2 separate regions of the Homo sapiens genome follow, and region 1 is linked to region 2. The links are contacts of gene promoters, found by promoter capture Hi-C in blood cells and fetal thymus (Javierre and others, 2016). All regions are on one chromosome and are shown on one strand. Each heading gives the region's core, a stretch centred on a gene start or on the middle of the fragment in contact. The rest is flanking DNA. Distances are from core to core; before and after follow the strand shown.

Region 1 (6,613 bases), core at 3,397-5,896, 350 kb after region 2:
CACAGTGGCTCATGCCCGTAATCCCAGCACTTGGGGAGGCTGAAGCAGGAGGATCGCTTGAGCCCAGGAGTTTGAGACCAGCCTGGACAGCATAGACCCCCATCTCTACAAAAAATGTTTTAAATTATCTGGGTGTGGTGACGTGCACCTGTAGTCCCAGCTATTCAGGAGGTTGACATTGGAGGACCAGTTAAGGCCACAGTGAGCCATGATCATGCCACTGTACTCCAGCTTGGGTGACAGAATGAGACCCTGTCTCTAAGAAAAAAAAAGAATCCATCAAGATGCCCTCTAAATGTCAGTGGTGTGTGAGGGGCAGGGGGAGTCTGGATGCCAGAAGCCTGGAACTGCTCAGGGGAGGCTTAAAACAGGGTATTTTGGAGACCCGAGAGATGATGTAAGATGATCCTGGCCCAAGGAGGTAATAATGAACTATAGGGGAGACTGTCTTGGAGAAATCCAGGTAGTCGCTGGCCCTAGGTTTAAGAGAACAGTGACCAGGGCTATATACCTGGAGGAATTCTGGGTCAAGTGCACACCCCAGCGTGTGGGGGACTGAGTGGCTGCAGACTTCCTTGCTCCCCCTTTACCTAGGCCATGCAGCCTCTACTTGAGGCTGTAGGGCAGTACCCCACCTGACCTCCCTGCCCTTTGCCCCCCCGCCAGCAACGCTCAGTATATCGTCAGTGGCTCTGACGATGGCTCCTTCTTCATCTGGGAAAAGGAGACCACCAACCTGGTCCGTGTGCTCCAAGGGGATGAGTCCATTGTCAACTGCCTGCAGCCACACCCCAGCTACTGCTTCCTGGCCACCAGTGGCATCGATCCTGTTGTGCGGCTCTGGAACCCCCGACCAGAGGTGAGGGTGCAGAGCCAAGCAGAGAGGAGGGCAGGGACTCTGTGGAAGGCTCCAGTGGAGCCTGCTAGCGCAGGGAAGAGAAATGAGCCACCCAGAGGCTAGAAGCTGCTAAGTAAGCCTTACCCCGGGGCCCAAGGCTGTGTTCTCAGATTCCAGAAGCTCCAAATGCAGCAGCAATTCTCCAGAAGCTGTGCAGAGGCCCTGGTCACAAGGGAACTATGCAGGCTTTGGCATCTGGTAGGCCTAAGTTTGAATCCAGTCTCCTCACTCGCTGCCTGAGAGACTTCACCATCTCTGACCCAGGCTTTTAATCATCTGTACATTGGGAATGGGAATGACAGCACCACCTTGAAAGGTTGTGGTGAGAAGTAAAGAAGAGATGCCTGTGAAGTGTCCAGCCCACAAGGACACTTAGGACAGTGGAGTCCCCTCCACTCCCAGGGTGGGTAGCCAGGGAAGCTGGCTTGGTGCCTCCCCTTCCCCTCTGCCCTACTGCTTCCCTCTTCCCAGCTGGCAAAACAAAAGTCAAGTGGTATGTCTGATTCCCAAGATAATTTGCTGTGACTTTTAAAGAGAGGACCCCTATAGGCTTCCCCATTGAGAGGAGAGGAGAAAGAAAGATGAAGCAAGAGTTGTGGCAACAAAACAGAATGGGGTGGGGAAGTTGTATCTGCCCCTTGTCCCAGGTATCCCAGTATGTGTGTCCAACATATCCTGGTGTGTACTGTCCCCCACGTATATCCCAGCATGTTATGACCTGCCTGTATATCCTGAGGTGGCGTATCTCCCATATATATTCCAGCGTGAGCACCCCCAACAATATGTAGCCAAGGTTGTGTGTTCCCCTCCACCATATACACCTCCTGGCATGTATGTGTACCTCCCCCTATAGATAGTTTAGTCTGTGTATTTCCCTCCCCCTCCCCTATACGTGTACCCTGGTGCCTCTCCCTCCCTGAGCCCCACGTGTGTCACCCCTTTCTCCACCACAGAGTGAAGACCTCACAGGCCGAGTCGTGGAAGATATGGAGGGTGCTTCACAGGCCAACCAGCGGCGCATGAATGCAGACCCGTTGGAGGTGATGCTGCTCAACATGGGCTACCGGATCACGGGCCTGAGCAGTGGGGGTGCCGGGGCCTCTGATGATGAGGACAGCTCTGAGGGCCAGGTGCAGTGCCGGCCCAGCTAGACCCTCCAGCCCTGGTCCCCAGCCCCTGCTACTGGCTGGACCCTCTGCCCTGGGCAGGAGGTCAGGGGATTCTGTTTTGGTTTGTCTTCCCCACCACCCTTTTTTTTCATTTCCCCTGTTTTGTTTGTTAGTTTGGCGTTAGGGGTGGAGGTTGCTACAACTTGCTGGCTTTCGGACTCTGGGCTGATTGTCCCCTGACTATCCCCAGCCCTGAAAAAAAGAGCAGGAGGGGACACCCCTCCATATGCCCCCCCCCATCTCCTGCTTTCATGTCCCTGGAGGGCTCTGGCCTGCCTCAAAACCCCTTCTGCCTCAGGTGGGGAGGAACAAGCTGAACTGTCTTCAGGGACTGTCCTGCCCTTTAGCTGGCAGCAGCAGGAGGAGTGGGATTCCCAATTGGTAAGGGCTCGCCTTGGCCTGTTGCCACTCTTGCTCCCTAGCCTGCAAGGCTAGCTCCCCTGTGGTCTTCAGGAAAGGTTTTGAAAAAGGATGGGTCCCACCCTCCCTCCAGAGCCACCAGTGTTAGAGCGGAGCCCAAAGGAAGGATGGGAGCCCTGGAGTGGGCAAGACCAGGCCACCTGCTGAGGTCGCTGTGGAGCACCCTCGCTCCTCTCCTGGCTACTAGCTCTGGCCCTGCACCTACTCTCACTGGCCACCTCTGGAGGCTCTGCCTTTCCCAAGGGCCCTGGCAGAGGGTGGGGCACTGCACCTTACCCCACCCATCCATGCCAGCACTTCTGCACTACGGCCATTCTCCTCTTGGGCGCTCCTCAGCCTCACTGTGACCTTTCTGCCAGAGCTCCCAGCCAGGCCTACTCTGCTGAGGTGGCGCTTCCTGCTAAGGGCCCTTCTCTGCCCTTTCTGCCCTCCTTCCCATCCCACATGCTGAGCCGCCACAAAGACCAAAGAAGTGATGGCTTTTCTCTGTCCCCTGCTGCTCTGAGGGGAGAGGGGTGGGTCTCCTGAGCCACTCAGATGGGAAAGTCCCTTACTCGGCCCCTCCCTCCCCAGCAGCCCCAAGCTTTACACTGGATGCAGCGATCAACCCACCACTCACCAGGCCTCTCCTCCCCTCTGCCCCCGGCTCTTAGCTCCAGCTGCTCCAGGTAGTTGGTTCATCCTTCCCCCTCTCTCCCTCCCTGCTTCCCCTTCAGTGCTTACTTGGCTCCAGCCCTCCAGCTGCAGCCCCTGGGGAAAAGCAGCCTCCCTTCTCCTCTCCCTCCACTCCCTCGCTCCCTCCCTCAGCCCCTGTCTCTGCCAGGTGCCTCCTCTCAGTCAGGCTTCAGAGCAGCCCTGGAGACAGGAGGGCCATGTTAAAAGCTTTTTCACAGTTTTAAGAAGACAAGTGGAGGGTGAGGATAGTGGTGGGGGGTCTGGCACCATCTCATTGCTTTAATCCCAGCAACACAGGTGGCAGCTTCTCCCCCTTCCTTCCCACCCCAGTCCCTCTTCCCACCCCTCTCTTCTAGCTTGGTAATGAAGTATATTTATTGGTGAAGGAAACAGCTGCTGCTGCTTCTCCTGCTGCTGGGACCTGCTCCCCTGTCTCTTCTCCGTGACCTTTCTCTAGCCAGGGAGAAGGGAGAGCAGGAGTATTGGGGCTGGGCCCTGGGGCCCAAGGACCAGCTGGGTCCCCTTTGCTTTCTTGTGTTCCAGCCACCTGCCATTTCCTCCCTGCCTCCCACCCTCCCTCCCTGCCCCCTGTCCTGCTTCCCACCCCCTGCCTGCCCAGCCTGGGCCCTGCAGTGTGGAGAGACACATAAGCCTTACTGTCCTCTGGGGGCAGGAGCCGAGCCTTTTTGTTGCTCCGCTCCCAGGAGAGTGAGGGTGACGCAATTGATTAAAACCATTTTGTTCTAGGTGTGGCTGGTGGCATTTGTGGGGTGCAGATGGGTCTTGGAACCAAAGTGAGGGCACCTGGTCCCTCACCTCTGTAGCTCTATGACTTAGTAACCACACCTCTACTGGACAGAATGAGGCCTGCCTTGAAGGGTCACCGTGAGCAGCGGCCACCCAGCCCAGCAGGGCTGAGTGCAGAGCCCAGCTCTCATGGCTGTGATTTGTAATCATCAGCTTTCACTCTCTGGCTGTTTTCTCATCAGTAAAATAAGGGACTTGGAATCTTAGTGGTTTTTCAAACCATTTTACATTGTGACCCAATATACACATGATTACTTGTAGATATGTGTGTGTGTATATATATATAAAAAAAATGAACAAAAGTTTTACACAATAATATTTACCCTTGCTACATGCAGTGTACTCTGCTTACCCTTCTGTTTTATTAGGGAAAAAAATATGGCTATAACCCACTAAATTGATTTCACATATGCAAGTTTTTGAAGTGCCCTGGATTAGATAATCTCTTAGACTATAGGTTCCTGAACTTTCTTAGCTCACAGCACCATTACCATCTCAGTAATTTTTTCATGGAGCCTCTAAGCCAAAAGAAATAACAGTTCAATTTATTAAGTAGTTAAGTCCAAATCACTTAAAAAGTATTTATGTCCTAACAAGTTAGTTGCCATTTAAAAAATAATACACCTGAATTGGAAGAAACAATATTTATTTCATTCTTTTTTTTTTTTTTTTTTTTTGAGACGGAGTCTTGCTCTGTTGCCCAGGCTGGAGTGCAGTGGCATGATCTCAGCTCACTGCAACCACCGCCTCCCGGGTTCAAGTGATTCTCCTACCTCAGCCTCCCAAGTAGCTGGGATTACAGGCATGTGCCACCATGCCCAGCTATTTTTTTTTTTTTGCATTTTTATTTATTTTTTATTTTTTATTTTTTTTTTGAGACAGTTTCGTTTTTGTCGCCCAGGCTGGAGTGCAATTGTGCAATTGCGGCTCACTGCAACCTCCGCCTCCTGGGTTCAAGCGATTCTCCTGCCTCAGCCTCCCAAGTAGCTGGGATTACAGGTGCCCGCCACCACACCCAGCTAATTTTTTGTATTTTTAGCAGAGATGGGGTTTCACCACCTTGGCCAGGCTGGTCTCAAACTCCTGACCTCAGGTGATCTGCCCGCCTCAACCTCCCAAAGTGCTGGGATTACAGGTGTGAGCCACCGCGCCCAGCCTTCATTCTTAAACAACTGCAATTACTAATGGGATCTATGCTGCCCATTGGGCACTGAACAACTTGTTAAATTTTCTAATCAAAGCAAACACTGCTGCCTTCATTTCCTGTCCCACATTGATTTTCATTTGCTTTTTATCACAGCAACCACTAAAGACCCAGCTTCTTTTTTTTTTTTTTTTTTTTTTTTGAGGCGGAGTCTTGCTCTGTTGCCCAGGCTGGAGTGCAGTGGTGCGATTTCGGCTCACCGCAAGCTCCACCTTCTGAGTTCATGCCATTCTCCTGCCTCAGCCTCCTGAGTAGCTGGGACTACAGGCAGCTGCCACCAGACCTGGCTTATTTTTTATGTTTTTAGTAGAGATGGGGTTTCACCACGTTAGCCAAGATGGTCTCGCTCTCCTGACCTTGTGGTCCACCCGCCTCGGCCTCCCAAAGTGCTGGGATTACAGGCATGAGCCACTGCGCCCGGCCAAGACCCAGCTTCTTAAAGATGACATCATCAAAAGGATTGTGGCATAATGTAATAATGGAACTGTGAACTACCTTGAGCTAATAGTTCTCTCATTAGCCAAAGATGTTGAATATCTTTCAAAATATCCTACTTTGCCCCCTGTGAATTTGCTGTGGGTGCCCTCAGGCACCTTGATGCACAGTTGGGGAACTATGGTTTAGTCTGTGGGAATAGCAGTTCCACTACTGAAACTACTGAGAGGTCCTGCCGGAAACACAATAGGTGGTATTATAAAACAGATACTGTGGGCTGGTATCATTCCTCTGTGTACCCAAATTAACGTCTGCAGAAGCTTCTTGAAGGCATTTCCAGACCAGACAAAGGAAGGACAATGTTCCAGACCAGGGAGTAGTGCAGAGTCTCAGGTTCCTTCATGAACCCTGAGTGACTCCATCTGGCTGGATTGTAGAGGGTAGACTGGAGGAGCAGTCAAACTGAAGGACTTCCTATGGCTGGTGAGAGACCACAGACTCAATCCTGTAGGCAAGGGAGGCATTGGAAGACTTCACGAGGGTCTCCATTTCATTTGGAGTTGGTACTCCATTTTTTAAAAAATTAATAGCCTTTACTTTCTAGAGCAGTTTTAGGCTTACAGAAAATTGAGCAGATAGTATAATGAGTTTCATATAACCCTCTTTCCCCAGCTCAATTTTCCCAATTATTAACATCTTGCATTAGTGTGTTGTTGTAATTAATGAACCAATATTGATACATTATGATAACTGAAGTCCATAGTTTACATTACGGTTCACTCTTTGTGTTGCAAAGTTCTATGGGTTTTGACAAATGCATGTCTCGTATCCACCATTACATTGTCATACAGAATAGTTTCACTGTTCTAAAAGCACCTTGTCCTCCACGTATTCAGCCCTCATTAGCATCCCCCCAAAAAAGTACTTAGGAATAAATCTAACAACATATGTACAAGGTTTGTATGAGCAAAACTACAAAACTGATAAAAGAAACCAAGGAAGATC
Region 2 (7,256 bases), core at 1,641-4,140:
AGGCTCTACGTTGACCAGAGTATGGATGGGGGATAGGAGGTGAGGGAGAGAGTGAAATCCCATCTGCAACGGTATCCCAAATAAAATTCTAACAGGTGATTTTAAATTCCCTTGCAATCTGAGCTAAGTGGTTAAAAATCTTTGCTTTAGTTTGAGAAATGTGGGGTATGGATTCACACATTCACGCAATTAACAGATATTTACTGAGGGCCCACTGTGTGCCACATGCTGGATTTATTATTATTATTATTATTATTTGAGACAGTCTTACTCTGTCACCAACGCTGGAGTGCATGGCACGATCTTGGCTCACTGCAACCTCTGCCTCCCAGGTGGAGGCAATTCTCATGCCTCAGCCTCCTGAGTAGCTGGAATTACAGGTGCATGCCACCACACCCAGCTAATTTTTTTGTATTTTTAATAGAGATGGGGTTTCACCATGTTGGCCAGGCTGGTCTCGAACTCCTGACCTCAAGTATCCACCTGCCTCAGCCTCCCAAAGTGCTGACATTACAGGCATAAGCCACCGCGCCCAGCCAGCTGTTCTAAATTCTTTTTTTTTTTTTTTTTTTTGAGATGGAGTCTCACTCTGTTGCCCAGTCTGGAGTGGAGTGCAGTGGCGTGGTCTTGGCTCACTGCAACCTCTGCCTCCCGGGTGCAAGCGATTCTCCTGCCTCAGCCTCCTGAGTGGCTGGGACTACAGGCGCGTGCCACGCCTGGCTAATTTTTTGTATTTTTAGTAGAGATGGGGTTTCACCATGTTAGTCAGGATGGTCTGATCTCCTGACCTCGTGATCCACCCACCTCGGCCTCTCAAAGTACTGGGATTACAGGCGTGAGCCACCGCGCCCGGCCTAGCTGTTCTAAATTCTATGGATAAAGTGATAAAACAGACAAAATCCCTCAACCTCAGGAGTTTACAATCCAGTGAGAGTTGATTATTGATGGCTTACACTGTTCTAAGTACTTCAGACATAATAACCAATTAATTTTCACAACCCTCTTTGTAATATTATTACCTGTATTATTATACTAAAGCACAGACAGGTTAAATAAGTTGTCCAAAGCCATACATCTATCTGTACACAATTGGCCTGGCCCCAGACTCTTATCCACTACCCCATCCCATCTATTACTTGGGAGAAAAGAGGCAGTCAAAGCTGCCAGCTCCATGGACCAGCGTGTGCCCAGAGAGAGCCCATGTTGGGAGCCCTGTCTTCCAGGCTCAAGCCTTCAGGAGAGTGGACAGATCTACAGTTAACCATGCTGAGCTCGGAAGTACGTGGGGCTCCTGAGGATGGACTGGCTATTGTCTTCTCCCCAACCTCCAAAGCTTTAGGACTCTCTATTATTGATTAAATTAATACAACGAGGTGCCCAGCGTTGTGCTAAATGCTGAGAAAACAGCAGTGAATGGGCCAGAGGACTTTCACCTTATTTGACTCTCACAATTGCTCTGAAAATAAGTAGTATATCTCCATTTCACAGATCAGGAATCTGAAGCTCAGAAAGGTGAAGTGACTGGCCCAGAGACACCTAGCAAGAGAGGGCTGGAGTAAGATTTGCACTGTGGCCCGCCAGGCTCTGAAGCCTGCGTACTTTGTGTGTGCCACACATCTCCAGCGGTGGTGGGATGAGAAGAGAAGACCTGGGATAAGGACAATGCCTGCCTCAGTTCCCCACTTCCCTCCAGCCATTGAACCCTCCTGAAGTCAAACTCAGGCAGTTTCTTCCAGGCTGTATCTCCCCGACCCTGCTGCCACCGCCCCGCCACCACCCCGCCCAATCCTAGGAACCTGGTCACTTGGTTTAGTGAGGGGAGACTCCCTGTCCCTATTGTGGCTTGAGGCAAGATTCTTAACCTCACTTTCCTCATCTTTAAATAAGGAGAGACTAGTATCTTCATGCCCCGCCAATCCCGTGAGATTTAAATGAAATATTGAGTGCAGGGGGCTTCCCGCAGTGGCCTTGCCCATGGGAGGGGCTAGGTCACTAGGCGATCTAAGGCACCGCAAGGATGTTCCCGGGGGTCAGAGGGTCCCGGCCCGCCCTCCCTGGATTTCTCGTTGATGCTTTCCTCTTCCCCCTTAGTCCCGCGAACACACACACACACTCAAGGGTCTATGTACCGTCCCCTCCTCCGAGGGTCCCCAGGACAGGCCCGGCCGCACCAGCCTCTGCCCCCAGCCCAGTGCCAAGCCTCGGACACCCGGCCGGGGAGGACCACCCCAGTCCTGCTCGAGAAACAGCCGTCGGCTCAGTGCACCCTCGGCCTCCTGCCCCAAAGGTGCAGCCCGAGAGTCCCATATCCGCGGGCAGCTAGTCCTGGGGACAAGGAAGAACCAGATCCTGGCACTGTCCCCCGGGCTACCACAGCCCCTACACCAACTCTGCCCTCGGGGCGAGCACTACCCTCTCCAGCTGCAAGGGCCCTACCCCGCGGGCGGACCCAGCCTCCCTCCCGTCCCGACGCTGTTCCTCGGGGTGAGCACCAGCGTTTGTCCCATCCCGACGCTGCCCCCCGGTGAGTGCGGCCCCCGCACCCAGCCAGTGCAGCCCTAAGGGCGAACGCGGCCCCTCACCCCATTCTGCGCGCCCAGCCCGGGCGCCCGCTCAGGCCGCTCCCCAGCCCGGCCCGCGCACCCCGGAAGTAGGAGGGTGGCCCCCGAGGAACCGGGCCCGGGACCCTCTCCTGTCCGGGCTCAGCTTCGGGGGGCTCCCGACACCGGCGCCGCCCTGGCTTGCGCCCCCCTGGGCCCGCGCCGGGCTTACCTGTCCCGCCAGGTGAGCCGCCTCCGGCTCAGCCCCTCCCCCGCCCCCTCGCCGCTCACCTGGGGCGCAGGTGAGCGTCTCGCGGGAGCGCTGCACGGGCCGCCGCTAGGGACACACTTCCTGCCTCCGCGAAGCGCTACCGCGCACCTGGACCGAGGCCCCGCCCCGGGGCTCTGCAGAGCTGCGCGTCCCCGCTCGAGTGCTCGGCCCGTTCAGCCTAGTCCGGGTAGGTGAGGTGTGGCGGGGAGGGGTCGAGAGGCGCTGGGGCTCAGTCTCCTCTTCTGTTCAACAGGCTGGTGGTCCTGTCAGTCTCTGAGCACCTGTGGAACTTCTGCCCGGCCGTAAAGCTCCAACTCAAAGGGAAGCTCTCTTCTGGGAAGCTTTCCCTGATCCTGTCTGTTTTTCTGTTGGTTAGAACAGTCCCTGTACTCAGCACACTGTCGTTTTGTTGTCTTCTGTCTCCTCCTTTAGCCTCCTACCTTGCAGGGTTTGGTCTTGTTCCCCTGTGTTCCTGGTGCTCAGCACAGGTCCTGGCACATACTAGGTGTTCAACAAATATTTTCCACTGAATGAGGCCCTGGGCCCCAATTTCTCCCTTTGCCCTGAGGCAGAACTGGGAGCCTGGGCCGCTGATCAGTTTACCTTTTCTTTTGTTCAGAGAAATCTGCAGGTAAAGACAGGAACCTCAGCTCTGAGGCCCCGAGTAGGGTAGAGGAGGGGGACCGGATATGCAGCTCTGAAAGATACATCCAGGATCAGAAGTGGTGGCCAAAATGGGCCATGGTCACTACATCCAAAAAAGGTCTCTGCAAGAGGCAACACCATTGAATGTCAATAAGGCAAGGCTCAGACTATTCTGGGTTACTGTTCCCCTTAATATTAATAACAACTCAATAACTTAACAATAGCATTAATAAACAAGTGACTTGGCCGGGCGCAGTGGCTCATGCCTGTAATCCCAGCACTTTGGGAGGCCGAGGCGGGAGGATCGCGAGGTGGGAGTTTGAGACCAGCCTGGCCAACATAGTGAAACCCAGTCTCTACTAAAAATACAAAAAATTAGCCTAGCATGGTAGCAAGTGCCTGTAATCCCAGCTACTCGGGAGGCTGAGGCAGGAGAATGGCTTGAACCCAGCAGGCAGAGGTTGCAGTGAGCCGAGATCGCGCCATTGCACTCCAGCCTGGGCGACAGAGCGAGACTCTGTCTCAAATAAACAAAACAAACAAACAAACAAGTGACTTTTAGGGAGCATCTCCAGGAGCCATGCATGCCGAAGCCGTTAATCTGTGAAGTGGGTCAGGTATTATCATATCCATTTTACAGTAAGAGGAAACTGAAGCTTAGAGAGGGGACATTGTTTGCTCAGGCAGTTGGCACAAACTGACTTTTGGCAAGGCACTTTCCTTCTCTAAACCTAATCTCTGGAGATAGTAGTACCTCTCTTTAACTGGGAGGATTAAAAGAGATCATGGATGCAACAGGAAGATATCACTGGGATGCATTAGGCATAGGTGTTCAATTTCCACCAGAGACCCTCCATCCCAGCGCCTCCCACCACATCTTGTCCACATTCCCTCCTGAGGAAAGTGCACATTGTATTCTTATTTGGAGCTCAGAGAATGAGTCACATCCTCACTTCACAGTCACATCTTGTGCAGTTGAACATCTGTGTACTCTAAAACCTAGCAAGTCCATTCCTATGGTACAGCCACAGTAAGCTCTTGTGCAATGCACCAGGAGAGAATGTATACAAGAATGTTACTAGAAACATTGTTTGTGGTAGCCCCAAACCGAAAACACGGAAATGCTACTGACAGGAGATAGAGAAATGTGGGATATTCATGCAAAGGAATTAATTATAGAGCAGTAGAAAATGAATGAAAAATAGCAACATGGTTGGATCATGGTAATATAATATTGGATTGAAAAAAGGCAAATCTCAGAAGACTACATATGGAATGACATCCTTTATATATGATTCAAAAATAACTAGAACTACTGCATCTAAGCATAATATTTGGTTGAACCATATGAATTTGCTGTTATTTGACCTGTTTTGATCTAAAAGTAATGGCAGATTCATGTGCTTCAGCCTAATTTTTACGTGAAAAAAAACTAAGAAAAGAGCAAGGCGTTGGGTGCAATAGCCTGGGCCTGTAATCCCAGCTACTTGGGAGGCTGAGGCAAGAGAATCTCTTGAGCCAAGGAGTTCAAGACCAGCCTGGGCAACATAGCAAGACCCTATCTCAAAAAAGAAAAGAAAGAAAAGAGCAAGGGAATGAGAAACACAAAGTTCAGAATAATGAATACCTGGGGGGCTAGGCATGGTGGCTCATGCCTATAATCCCAGCACTTTGGGAAGCCAAGGATTTGGGAGGTTTGGTTGAGCCCAGGACTTCAAGACCAGCCTGGGCAACATAGAAGGACCTGTCTCTATGGAAGGAAAAAAAAAAAAAAAAAAAGGCTGGTCATGCATCTGTGGTCCCAGCTACTTGGGAGGCTGTGGCAGGAGGATTGCTTGAGCCCAGGAGGTCAAGGCTGCAGTGAACCATATTAACACCACTGCCCTGCCCTCCAGCCTGGAACACACCACACACACACACACACACACACACACACACACACACACACACACAAAATTACCTGGGGGAGGATGCAGGGATCCTCCTATTAAATCTACCTGTGGGAGAGAAACCCATAGGTAGATTTAATTTTTAGCAATGTTCTGGTTTTTGTGAATAGTGGATTCAGGGGCTTTCATTTTATAATGAATGAATGAAAAAATAGAAGTTTATGCTCTAATGCTAAATAATTAGAGTTAGTGTCACTTGCAAAGTTCTCAAGATACGCAAACACATGAGAGCCTAGGGTCTTATTTATTTTATTTTATTTTATTTTATTTTATTTTTTTGAGATGGAGTCTCGCTTTGTCACCAGGCTGGAGTGCAGTGGCACGATCTCGGCTCGCTGCAACCTCTGCCTCCCGGGTTCAAGCAGTTCTGCCTCAGCCTCCCAAGTAGCTGGGACTGCAGGTGTGCACCACCATGCCCAGCTAATTTTTTTATTTTTAGTAGAGACAGGGTTTCACCATGTTGGCCAGGATGGTCTCAATCTCTTGACCTCAATGATCCGCCTGCGTCGACCTCCCAAAGTGCTGGGATTACAGGCGTGAGCCACTGCGCCTGGCCTAGGTTCTTATTTAGTTTTTGTTGTTGTTGTTGTTGTTGCTGTTGTTTGAGACAGGGTCTCACTTTGTCACCCAGTCTGAAGTGCAGAGATGTGATCTTGGCTCACAGTAGCCTCCGCCTCCTGGGTTCAAGGAATCCTCCCACCTCAGCCTCCCGAGTAGCTGGGAGTATTAAGTATTATTTAGTTTTCTCCCCATTTATTTATTCATTCTTTTTTTAAAAAGAAAAAATTAAGGTATAATTTACCTATAGTAAAATTCACCCTTTTTAGTGTACAGTTTTGTGAGTTTTGAAAAATGCATACAATGGCACAACTGCCACAGCAATCAAGATATAGATCAGTTCCATCACCTCCCAGAAATTCCCCTGAACCCCTCTGTGGTCAGTTCCTCCCCTTGACTCCAGCCCTTAACAACCACTGATCTTTCTTCTGTTTCCATAGTTTTGCTTTTTCCAGAACTTTAGCTGTAGAAGTGCAGAATTGCTCTACAAAATTCTAATTCTGTGGTACCTAAAATGCTGTAGATTAATAAGAATATGATGACTGAAGCAGCTCAGAGCTACTTTCCTTGCCTAGAAAGAATAAAGGAAGAAAGGAAGGAAGGAAGGAAGGAAGGAAATAAATAAATAAATATGATCTCTGAACCTCTGGCTACGCTTTCTGGTGAGTGTTTTGTGAAGAGTTTTGCAATAGGCACAAGGTAGCTGTTATTCTAATTATAGCCACACTGAAACCTCCCCTTTCTCTGCTCGTCTCCCTCCCTCACTCAAAGATACTGGGCCCTGTTCCGAAGGGTCCTTCCCATTGCCACGGTGCGTATTCAAAAAGTCTGTCAAAAATCAATGACACTTGGGCCAGGCACAGTGGCTCATGCCTGTAATCCTAGCACTTTGGGAGGCCGAGGCAGGTGGATCACTTGAGATCAGAAGTTCGAAACCAGCCTGGCCAACATGGTGAAACCCCGTCTCTACTGAAAATACAAAATTAGCCAGGCGTGGTAGTGGGCGCCTGTAATCCTAGCACTTTGGGAGGCCGAGGCTGGCAGATCACCTAAGATCGGGAGTCTGAGACCAGCCTGGCCAACATGGTGAAACCCTGTCTCTACTAAAAATACAAAAATTAGACAGGCATGGTGGCAGAAGCCTGTAATTGCAGCTACTCAGGAGGCTGAGGCAGGAGAATCGCTTGAACCTGGGAGGCGGAGGTTGCAATGAGCCAAGAACACTCCATTGCACTCCAGCCTAGGTGACAAGAGCAAAACTCTGTCTCAAAAAAAAAACCCAAAAAAAATCAA

Evidence for each region. Contacts are between HindIII fragments. The CHiCAGO score rates a contact against its expected background, and 5 or more counts as called.
Region 1: a fragment that was not itself captured here is called in contact with the fragment with the promoter of KDF1 in region 2 in 9 of 17 cell types (M0 macrophages, erythroblasts, endothelial precursors and 6 more); the score reaches 9.1 in M0 macrophages.

Annotation. Positions count from the first base shown.
Region 1 is chr1:27,304,335-27,310,947 of GRCh38, forward strand. It overlaps WDTC1 (WD and tetratricopeptide repeats 1), which reads left to right. Exons shown (of 16, transcript NM_001276252.2): 15 at 667-859; 16 at 1,852-4,302. The coding sequence ends at 2,049. Among named protein-coding and RNA genes, the nearest start is that of TMEM222, 15 kb to the right of the region's middle. RefSeq lists enhancers at 2,922-3,447, 3,448-3,973, 3,974-4,498. The HindIII fragment of the contact is 2,559 bases long and covers 3,368-5,926 here.
Region 2 is chr1:26,957,578-26,964,833 of GRCh38, forward strand. It overlaps KDF1 (keratinocyte differentiation factor 1), which reads right to left and starts at 2,891. Exons shown (of 4, transcript NM_152365.3): 1 at 2,773-2,891. RefSeq lists an enhancer at 2,329-3,011 and a silencer at 3,881-4,175. The HindIII fragment of the contact is 1,819 bases long and covers 1,332-3,150 here.